Regions from separate parts of the Homo sapiens genome. Here region 1 is linked to region 2. The links are contacts of gene promoters, found by promoter capture Hi-C in human tissues and cell types (Jung and others, 2019). All regions are on one chromosome and are shown on one strand. The core of a region is centred on a gene start or on the middle of the fragment in contact, and the rest is flanking DNA. Distances in the headings are between cores, read along the strand shown.

Region 1 (4,508 bases), core at 1,955-4,454, 1.2 Mb after region 2:
GGTCTTAGGCCAGTTTTCAGAGAATTTGAATCTTACAAAATATAATTCTGAAATTAGGATTATGATTTATACTATTTAAAAGGTACTTGAGGATATAGCACATTGCATGTATTATCAAAATCATCATCTTAGCCATGTAAACCACACTGTTTAACAAACCTGATTATTAATGAGTCACTGTTACTATTCACCTCACTCTCTTGGCACGTCTTTTCTTTTTTTTTCCTTTGAGACAGGCTCTTGCTCTGCCGCCCAGGCTGGAGTACAGAGCTGCAGTCTCCACCAGGCTCAAGCAGTCCTCCCACTTCAGCCTCCTGAGTAGCTGGGACTACAAGTGTGTGCCACTACACCCAGCTGACTTGTTAATTTTTCTGTAGAGATGCGGTCTTGCCATGTTGCCCAGACTGGTCTTGAACTGCTGGGCTCAAGTGATCCTTCTCAGCCTCCCAAAAGATCTTGTCATTTCTCACTCCTTAATGCTTCTTGATAATCTGTTCCCTCTGAACACCCCCGCAACATCACATGCTGGGCGAATCAGCTGTTACTGCCATGGCCCCCACTTCACCTCCCTGGGCCACATCTATGCTACTCCTCAGTCCACTGTGGGAATGGGCCTTGTAGACCACAGATCTGGTTTTGTTACCTGCTGGAGATCCTGTAAGGTAGAATCCAGCCTCCTTAGCAGGGCTTCTTTTCCCCTTCGTGCTCCGACTCCTAACCTCTCGTTCCTGGTACTTACTGTTTATGCTGTGCAGAACTCATGGCTCTCACTACGAGCCAGGTCCACCCTGCTAGCCAGCCATAATCTGTACTGAGAATGACACCTTTACGCCCCACCTCTGCCTGCTGCACCTGTCTCCACTCCAGGCACCCCTCCTCTGCATCCACAACTTTCTAGAACCTGGGGCTCAGCACATATCCCACCTTGCATTGTGACCTTTGACTCTTGTCTCCTGGACCAGAGTGAGCTGAATGGGTCATGTGGGAGGCTTTTCCTAAGTGTCTGTTAGTTGAAGTTGTTTCCTTTAAGTTGATCCATACCGAACAATGTGAGAAGTGTGTGAAACAGTATGGAGACTGTGATTTTGGTCCAGTGGGTATTGTGTGCAGTAGGTGCTTAAATATGTTCACAAACTGTGTTGTAAAGCAATTTGCAGTATGGAATAGCTCATCTGTAGCTGTCTTGAAATTAAAATACACATACGCTTAGGAGTCCACTGCAGTACTTACAAATGCCAATCCCTATAAATTAATTTAATAAATATCTTAAAGATTTCTGTATCATAATCCTAAAATGTTTACTGACAAGAATGCAGTTTATCATAAAATGAGGCCAGGAGTTAATATCTTTTTTTAGGTTTCCCTGTTCAGTACCAGCAAGACATGCCTTTTAGTGTTTTTGGCTTCATGTTTGCCAAATAGACTTACTTAATACAGAATTTTTTAGACATCCTTCAGACTGGACATCATCCAGAATTTACTTCCTTGAGATCAGCCCTCCTTCATATCTCTTGGGTAGAACTCTGTGTCCGCACCACCCACATGTCTGAGGTATCAGCAGCCAGAGTTGCCACTTTTGTCCTTCACCAGTAGGCCGTGTCACTTGCTGTGTTCTGAGGGGCTCATTTGGAGCCATTGTTGCAGATAGTCAAGCTTAGTGCCCAGAATGGCACAGTGTCACACACTGCAGAGGCCTCACCTAGAAAAGGAATCCTGCAGTTCTCTACTTCCCCACAGCCATGATTAGGACCTGTCACTCTGGAACCAAGTTGCCGTGTGATGTGACACTACTGTGAACTAAAAATACAGCAGGTGGAGAACCAGCATTTCCCATTCATGATAAAGATGCCATTTGAAACCTGGGATTGATCTGGAGGCTGATAAGTCGCTGGTACCATGTGTTCCTATTTTTTTTCTTGTTTTTTTAAGTGAATAAATCTGGAAATACATCCTTTTGAGAGAAACCTAACTTGTAAAGTATGTTGTCAATAGCTTCCCCTTTGACTAAGAACACTTTCAAGAGCTTTGGAGAGTCATGTCAAGGTACATTTGACTTTGTATGCCCAGTACTTAGTGATGTTTGGTGTATAGTAGTAGTAGTCGCCTAATAAAAGTTTGTTAATTTAAATCAAAGACTTTATTCTTTTCAGGTCTAAAATCAATTTATCAATTATGTAATGTTTTCTGGGTTGTCCCTTTAAGTGTATTTAACTTTTAAATTAGACTACGGTTCAGAAAGTCTCAATATAGGAAAGCTGTGATTATTTCAAAGATCAGTAGCTGTATTCCAAACCCAAAGGCCTCTGTGAATATATCAGGGAGGTACAAGTACTTCTCTCTTTGGACCTCATTCCTTTGGTGTTTATTGAGCACATACTCTGTCAGCCACTGAGTAGGCACTAGACTTGAGCCTGCCTAGTGCACTGTGGCTAGAATTCCTCCTGCCTCTGGGAATAATATTGCACATAAGCATCTGAGAAGCCTGGATCAGGGTCCAATACTGCTTACTTCCGGATGAAAGTAGCCCAGGTGTCCCTGTGCTGGTCTCAGCCTCTTCTGAGCCCCAGGGTCACTTGGTCCTGTGCTAGTGGGTTCCAAAAAGTCAAGTCTCTACTTTCTCTTTTCTCTGTTCTGTTTAAATTTTTTCATTGTAAACATGGTGTGTACCAAAAGTACATGCACTCTTATGATGTGGCTCTGGCTGGAAGAACTAATACAGTTTACAAGAGCCACCACCTTAACCCTCTCTTTGTCTTCTTCCTCCTGACACCAATGCTGCCTACCTGCCTTGGGCCCAGCCCATCTGTTATGGGTCCCCAGGGTTTCCCAGGAGGCCACAGCCGGGCAACAATTTGACATGGCGTATCTTGGTACCTGCTGATGTTCTCGCATCCAGCGAATAAAGCCACGGCCCTTGCATTCTACTCCTTCCTCTCACCTGTCCACATCCTATACCATCTGCCCTGGCAAGAATTTATTTTCTTTTTTTTATTATTATACTTTAAGTTCTAGGGTTCATGTGCACAACGTGCAGGTTTGTTACATATGTATACATGTGCCATGTTGGTGTGCTGCACCCATTAACTCATCATTTACATTAGGTATATCTCCTAATGCCATCCCTCCCCCTCCCCCTGCCCCACGACAGGCCCCGGTGTGTGGTGTTCCCCACCCTGTGTCCATGTGTTCTCATTGTTCAATTTCCACCTATGAGTGAGAACATGTGGTGTTTGGTTTTCTGTCCTTGCGATAGTTTGCTGAGAATGATGGTTTCCAGCTTCATCCATGTCCCTACAAAGGACATGAACTCATCCTTTTTTATGGCTGCATAGTATTCCATGGTGTGTATGTGCCACATTTTCTTCATCCAGTCTATCATTGATGGACATTTGGGTTGGTTCCAAGTCTTTGCTATTGTGAATAGTGCTGCAATAAACATACGTGTGCATGTGTCTTTATAGCAGCATGATTTACAATCCTTTGGGTATATACCCAGTAATGGGTTGGCTGGGTCAAATGATATTTCTAGTTCTAGATCCTTGAGGAATCGCCACACTGTCTTCCACAATGGTTGAACTAGTTTACAGTCCCACCAACAGTGTAAAAGTGTTCCTATTTCCCCACATCCTCTCTAGCACCTCTTGTTTCCTGACTTTTTAATGATCGCCATTCTAACTGGTGTGAGATGGTATCTCATTGTGGTTTTGATTTCCATTTCTCTGATGGCCAGTGATGATGAGCATTCCTGGCAAGAATTTCTCTGCCTGTTCCTACTGGTTGTCACCTTCTCTCTCCCCTGGATGAACTGACCCTTCCCTCCCTGTTTTCCCCATCTCAGGCTACTGCTGGGTTTCTACCCACATGTCAGGGTCTGTGTTCCTCTGCCCTTAAACCCTCAGCAGCAATCTTTGGCCCACGAGATGATGTCCGGACTCCTTTGTGTGACATCAAGGTCCACTGTGAGCTGGAACAGCATGTCCCCCAGGCTCCAGCCACCCACAAGTATTTGTTAGCATATTAATGCACGTAGGCTGTAGCAGCAATGGCCCCTTTTTACTAGCAGTGTGATCCTGGGATCTACTGCTCTTTGTCTCAGAGACTCTGAAGTAACTTGGTAAGAGAATATGGGGAAACACATTGGACAGATCCCTTAGGGACCTCAGATCTCTAGGAGCCAAAATGAGAGAAAGAGAATGAACTTTGAAGTGAGACAGAGAGGAGCTAGGATCCTGCTTACAAGCTGTGTTAGATTTGGCCTCCTTATTCTACTTCCGTAGGCCCCTTTTTCTCGTTGTACAATGGAAACAATGTAACTCATAGGATCTCATGTGAGATCAAGAGTTATAACCCATAAAGTGTTTACAACAGTGCCTGGTACTTAGCAAGTCTCAGTAAAGGTTGCAGTTGACATTAGCAGTAGCAGCAACAGCATATAAGCCACACAGTTCAACAGAAGGTTGAAAGCAGGGGCTGATACTCCATGGGTTTTCAGTCAAATCAGAATCTTG
Region 2 (4,852 bases), core at 2,325-4,824:
ACAAGTGGGTTAGAATGGATGATACCAATGGGTGGTCAATTTGAGGCAACAAGACTGATCCATGCTTTATGAATATTTAAGGTTTATTTTGCTTTCCATCTCTGTTTACAAGTAACACTCTTGTTTGTTTTGTCCTTTTAACGTATGTCTAAGAAGTAAATATCTATTCTATGTTTAACATGTTTCATGGGTTAATGATTTACTTATTATCTGTACTTAACATATGAACTGATGTAACATATACTTACAGATAAGTTTCATCTATCCCATTTGTTTTTCCTATTCTTTAGGGCAGAATTGAAAATTCTTAAATAATACAGCAAATGCATGTTACATTATGGATAAAAAATCTGAGGCACAGGCCAGTAAGTCCCTTCCACAAAGTCCCCACAACTTTGCCAAGGGCATGAAAAAGTCAGGTTTCAAATACAAAACATCTGGCCCCAGAGCCCAATTTTTTTTTTTTTTTTTTTTTAGTGACAGGGTCTTGCTCTGCTGCCAGGCTGGAGTGCAATGGCATGCTCATGGCTCACTGCAGCCTTGACTTCCTGGGCTCAAGGCTCAAGTGGTCCTCCTTGCCTTTGGCCTCCCAAAGTGCTGAGATTATAGGCCTGAGCCACCATGCCCGGCCTCAGACCCCACTTCTTAATCATCATCCTAAACTGATTCCTAATTTGCCTGAGAAAACACGGCTGCTAAATCTAACCTTAAGTCCAGTGCTCTTCGTGCTAATTACTCTTTGTGTATAAGTACTCTCCGGCCAGGAGATCTGTCTTGTTGATCTCTGCATTCTTACCACCAAGCACAGAGCCCGGGCAAATACTTGTTGACCAAGAAAATATCTCATTTTATGCCTTTTGTTTTTCTTTTGGGTTAAATGTGCAGAATAATTCCAATTTAACATTTAAGAAAATTTAAACTTTGGCATTTAAAGTTAAATTACCTTAGGTATTTGATTTAAGACTGATTAACCTAAAGAAATATCTAGTTGCTACAGAGTAAAAGATAAGGATCTATGAACTGAGATCTAGCATCGATTGTGAAACTAACCCTTTTAAAGGGCTTGTTTCTCTGTGCTTCACTTTCTCTAGGAGGAAAATGGTCCTAGTAACTCTTATCTATTCCCTTCACCAGGAATTGTTACATTGTCTATTCTTCCTATTACTAGCATATCTTTAAAAAAATGGTTTCTGCTTTATCAGTTAGATATTATTAAAAAATGTAAGTCTGTCTATAAATTCATAAAATCAATGAACCATAAACATATTTACATGATATTAAAAATAACATATTTTTATATCCTTTTAAAGACACATTTTATGCTACATTTGGACATGTTTAACATCCTGTAATTTACTAAATATCCTACAATTTTCCTCATTCATTTGACTTTTGTGAGAGGAAAAAAACAGCCTTCTGAAAGAAGTTAACACACATTATATGCTACTAAAATATTTTAATGCCTCATTTGTTCCACATTTATTTATATGTTTATTGGCATGTTTATTTCCCCACTTATGTAAATAGTGTTTCTCTGTAGGAAGTTGGCAATAATCTCAATAGATACATGACTAGAACTCAATGTAGTGGGTGATTAATCCTGGCTACCCATCAGAATCACCTGAGACACTTAAAAAAACAAAACCGATGCCCCAGTCCTACCTCAAACAATTTAAGTCAATATTTCTAGGGCTGGAATTGGGACATCTCTATTTTTAAGAACTTCTCAGATATTCTACAAAATACTTGACCAGCACTTTTCAACACTGTCAAGGTCATCATAAACAAGGAATGTCTAAAAAACTGCCACAGTGTCAGAGGAGGTGAAGGAGACATGATAACCGAATGTTATGTGGTACCCTAAGTGAGATCCTGGAATAGAGAAATAACATTAAGGGAAAACTACTGAAATCCAAATAAACTGTGGAGTTTATTTAATAGTAATGTACCATTGTTGATTCCTTAGTTGTAACAAATGTATCATCTTACACTAAAACAAATGTCAACATCTCACACAATAGAGAAACTGGGTATATGGGAACTGTCTACTATTTTTGTGACTTTTCTGTAAATCGAAAACTATTCTTTAAAAAAGTTTATTTAGAACATCTGACTATATGCTAGAGAGTAAAAGATAAGGATCTATGAACTGAGATCTAGCATCATTTGTGAAACTGACCCTTTTAAAGGGTTTCTCTGTGCTTCACTTTCTCTAGTAGGGTTGAAAATCACTTACATAGTAATCTGCTTACAGTGTACCAGAAAACAAAAAGACGCTGTGAAATATTGAGCCCAATTGTCAATTGTCGGCATGTGCGTTCTTAAAAATTTGACACTCAGAAACCATGGGCTGCTTCATTAGGACCTTTAGGGAGATTACATTTCTACCGGCAGTTCCAGGAGAACACAAATAGACTAATGACAATACACTTAACTGTAACAATGACAATCCTGATAATTACTGACTTCCAAAATACAACAATTCAAGAAAGACTGCTTAGTAGAGAATAAAAGGTAACAATAAATTTCTTAGTTTAGAAGCATAAGTTTCATTTTAATACCTATGAAAAATATAAATATGTGGATTAAATAGAATGTCTAATGTTTTCTCAGACCCCAGTGGTTTGAGAAAAGCCTACCTGGATTTAGCCGGTCACACCTCTCTTTTCATAACCATTGCAATTTTAAGCATATTTGTCATCTGTGCAAATTTCTAGAGAAAAGTCAGAATTGTGTTTGAAGAAATCACTCTGCACAAGTAAACCCTTGCCAAACAGCAAGTGCCAGGAGACGATGTTTCACAAAGCTTTTAAAAATTATTATTATTATTATTATTATTATTATTTTGCACACATTATCTAGTTTGGTAAAACTGTCACCAATTTACAATCCGGAATCACCATGTGAGTCGAATTAACAAATGTATTAGCAACTTGTAGTCAACCAGATTGCAGTTCCAGCTCCCTAACTCAATGCAATTTTAATAATTTCTCTTCTCTGAGTCTATCTCAGTTTCTCATCTGTAAAATGAGTAAAAGCAAACCACTTGCAGTTCAGATGTTGAGATTCGGTGGGAAGGACCTCGAGAAACAGCGGACAATTTCAGGATTTAGGACTTTAGGTCTTGATGGGTGGATGGTACTGTGGAAGCTGTTTACTTGTTTGTATTTCTAGAATCGGAAGGTAAAGCGAAAGGGATGGAAACGAGCGAATGGAAGAAGTAGGACAGACACCAGACAGAGATCAACTCCAGGGACTCTTCCGGACCTGCAGGGCAGGCAGAGCATTCGGTTGCTAGGCAGCTGCGCCTCCTGGGAGGGTGGGGGACCCCAGGGGCAGGTGTCTAACTCACTACCTTTTTGTTTAGCCGCGGTGCCTTCTTTTCAAAATCAATGAAACCTGTAGCCTTTAAAAGTAGACATCTTTTTCCAACCAAGTTTAGGCAAGCCCTGTAGCCGAGTTCTGCTTGCGGTTGTTTTTCTTTTTCCTGTTCTCAGGCGCGCTGCGGGCACCTCTCGGACAAGGCCCCAGCCGTCGCGGGTTGCCGGGCAGAGTCGGACGCCGCCAGCTCTTCACTCCACGCCCACCTCTCTCCTGGAGCGCTGGGCCTTCGCTGGCCGCACCGGCAGCCATGAGCTCGGAGATGGAGCCGCTGCTCCTGGCCTGGAGCTATTTTAGGCGCAGGAAGTTCCAGCTCTGCGCCGATCTATGCACGCAGATGCTGGAGAAGTCCCCTTATGACCAGGTACCGGCCAGCTCCCGTCAGCCTGTGCATCCTGACGCTGAGGCTGCGGGGTCTGGGGCATATCCCAGCCCCGGGTTGGGAGGCCGGGGAGGAAGGCCCGAGGCGGGGCTGACCGTTCGGCCCTCGGAGGCGCCCGGAGCGAGACCTTGTGGAGCTGTGACTAGCGGGTCCGCTGTCCGCCACGTCCACGGGGATAGCAAGTTCTGTGCCATGACCGCCCCCTCCTCACAATTTTCAGCCTCCCCTCCCCTATACGTGTCCCAGAATGAGAGCCCTGAACTTTACTTGACGAGGAACTTTGATAATTCGTTTATACTTGCATATTGATGGGCTTTAAGCTCTCAGCGTGTGCGTTGTTAATTTCTAAAAAATATGCATAAACAAAGATCTGTGACTCTCCACCTCCTGTTAACATAGCTGCCTTCTTCCTTTTGGATCGAACATGTGATCCTCCCACCTCATCTTTAGACTGTTGTCCAAGAGTGAAGGAGGCCATGAGTTTAGCTTGAGGCAAATATGCAAATTAGAAGAATGAGAATCTAGGAGGGAGAAAGATACATTCATTATTTAAAAAATTACCTAGGCAAGGGAAGCTCTAATTGTAGGAGGGAGAAATGGGAAAGAAAGGCTCCTTACAAGAAGGAATGATGGCATTGATGAAAAGAGAACTTAAACTAGAGTAATGTGTATAGCGAGTGGAAAAGGTAGTATACAATGTACGTGAGCGGTACAATTCTGGTGGGCAGGTGGCTCCTGGAATAGGCAAAAAAGGAGAAAATGGGAGAACAGAAGTAGCGCTGCGGCAGTTTGTCAGTGCTTTTAGTAAGTGCGGAATATACCTACGTAGTTCTAGTTCCCTAGCTTTTCCTCTAGTGGTGTTGCCTTGGAGATGTTAGAAAAAATGGAAAATTGAAGGGAGTTACAAAAGCGGAGGCCTGAGTGTGAATGCTGTTACTAGGCTCTGCCTTAGCTCCCAGCAAATGGATGATGGATGATAACCTGCTGAGATGAACATTTTGTCTTTCAGATAGTACATCTCTCTTAGAACAGCCTACGTTAGTGGTAATACAAAGCTAGGTTCTGTTGTTAGTTCACATTAATTAATAG

Evidence for each region. Contacts are between HindIII fragments. The study calls those that stand out against the background at their distance.
Region 1: a fragment that was not itself captured here is called in contact with the fragment with the promoter of TTC8 in region 2 in 1 of the 25 tissues and cell types used here (dorsolateral prefrontal cortex).

The regions. Positions count from the first base shown.
Region 1 is chr14:90,023,481-90,027,988 of GRCh38, forward strand. The region is part of intron 15 of TDP1 (tyrosyl-DNA phosphodiesterase 1); the gene reads left to right. Among named protein-coding and RNA genes, the nearest start is that of KCNK13, 36 kb to the right of the region's middle. The HindIII fragment of the contact is 5,501 bases long and covers 455-4,508 here.
Region 2 is chr14:88,821,077-88,825,928 of GRCh38, forward strand. TTC8 (tetratricopeptide repeat domain 8) reads left to right here and starts at 3,575. Exons shown (of 15, transcript NM_144596.4): 1 at 3,575-3,745. The coding sequence starts at 3,632. RefSeq lists an enhancer at 3,227-3,586. The HindIII fragment of the contact is 5,735 bases long and covers 25-4,852 here.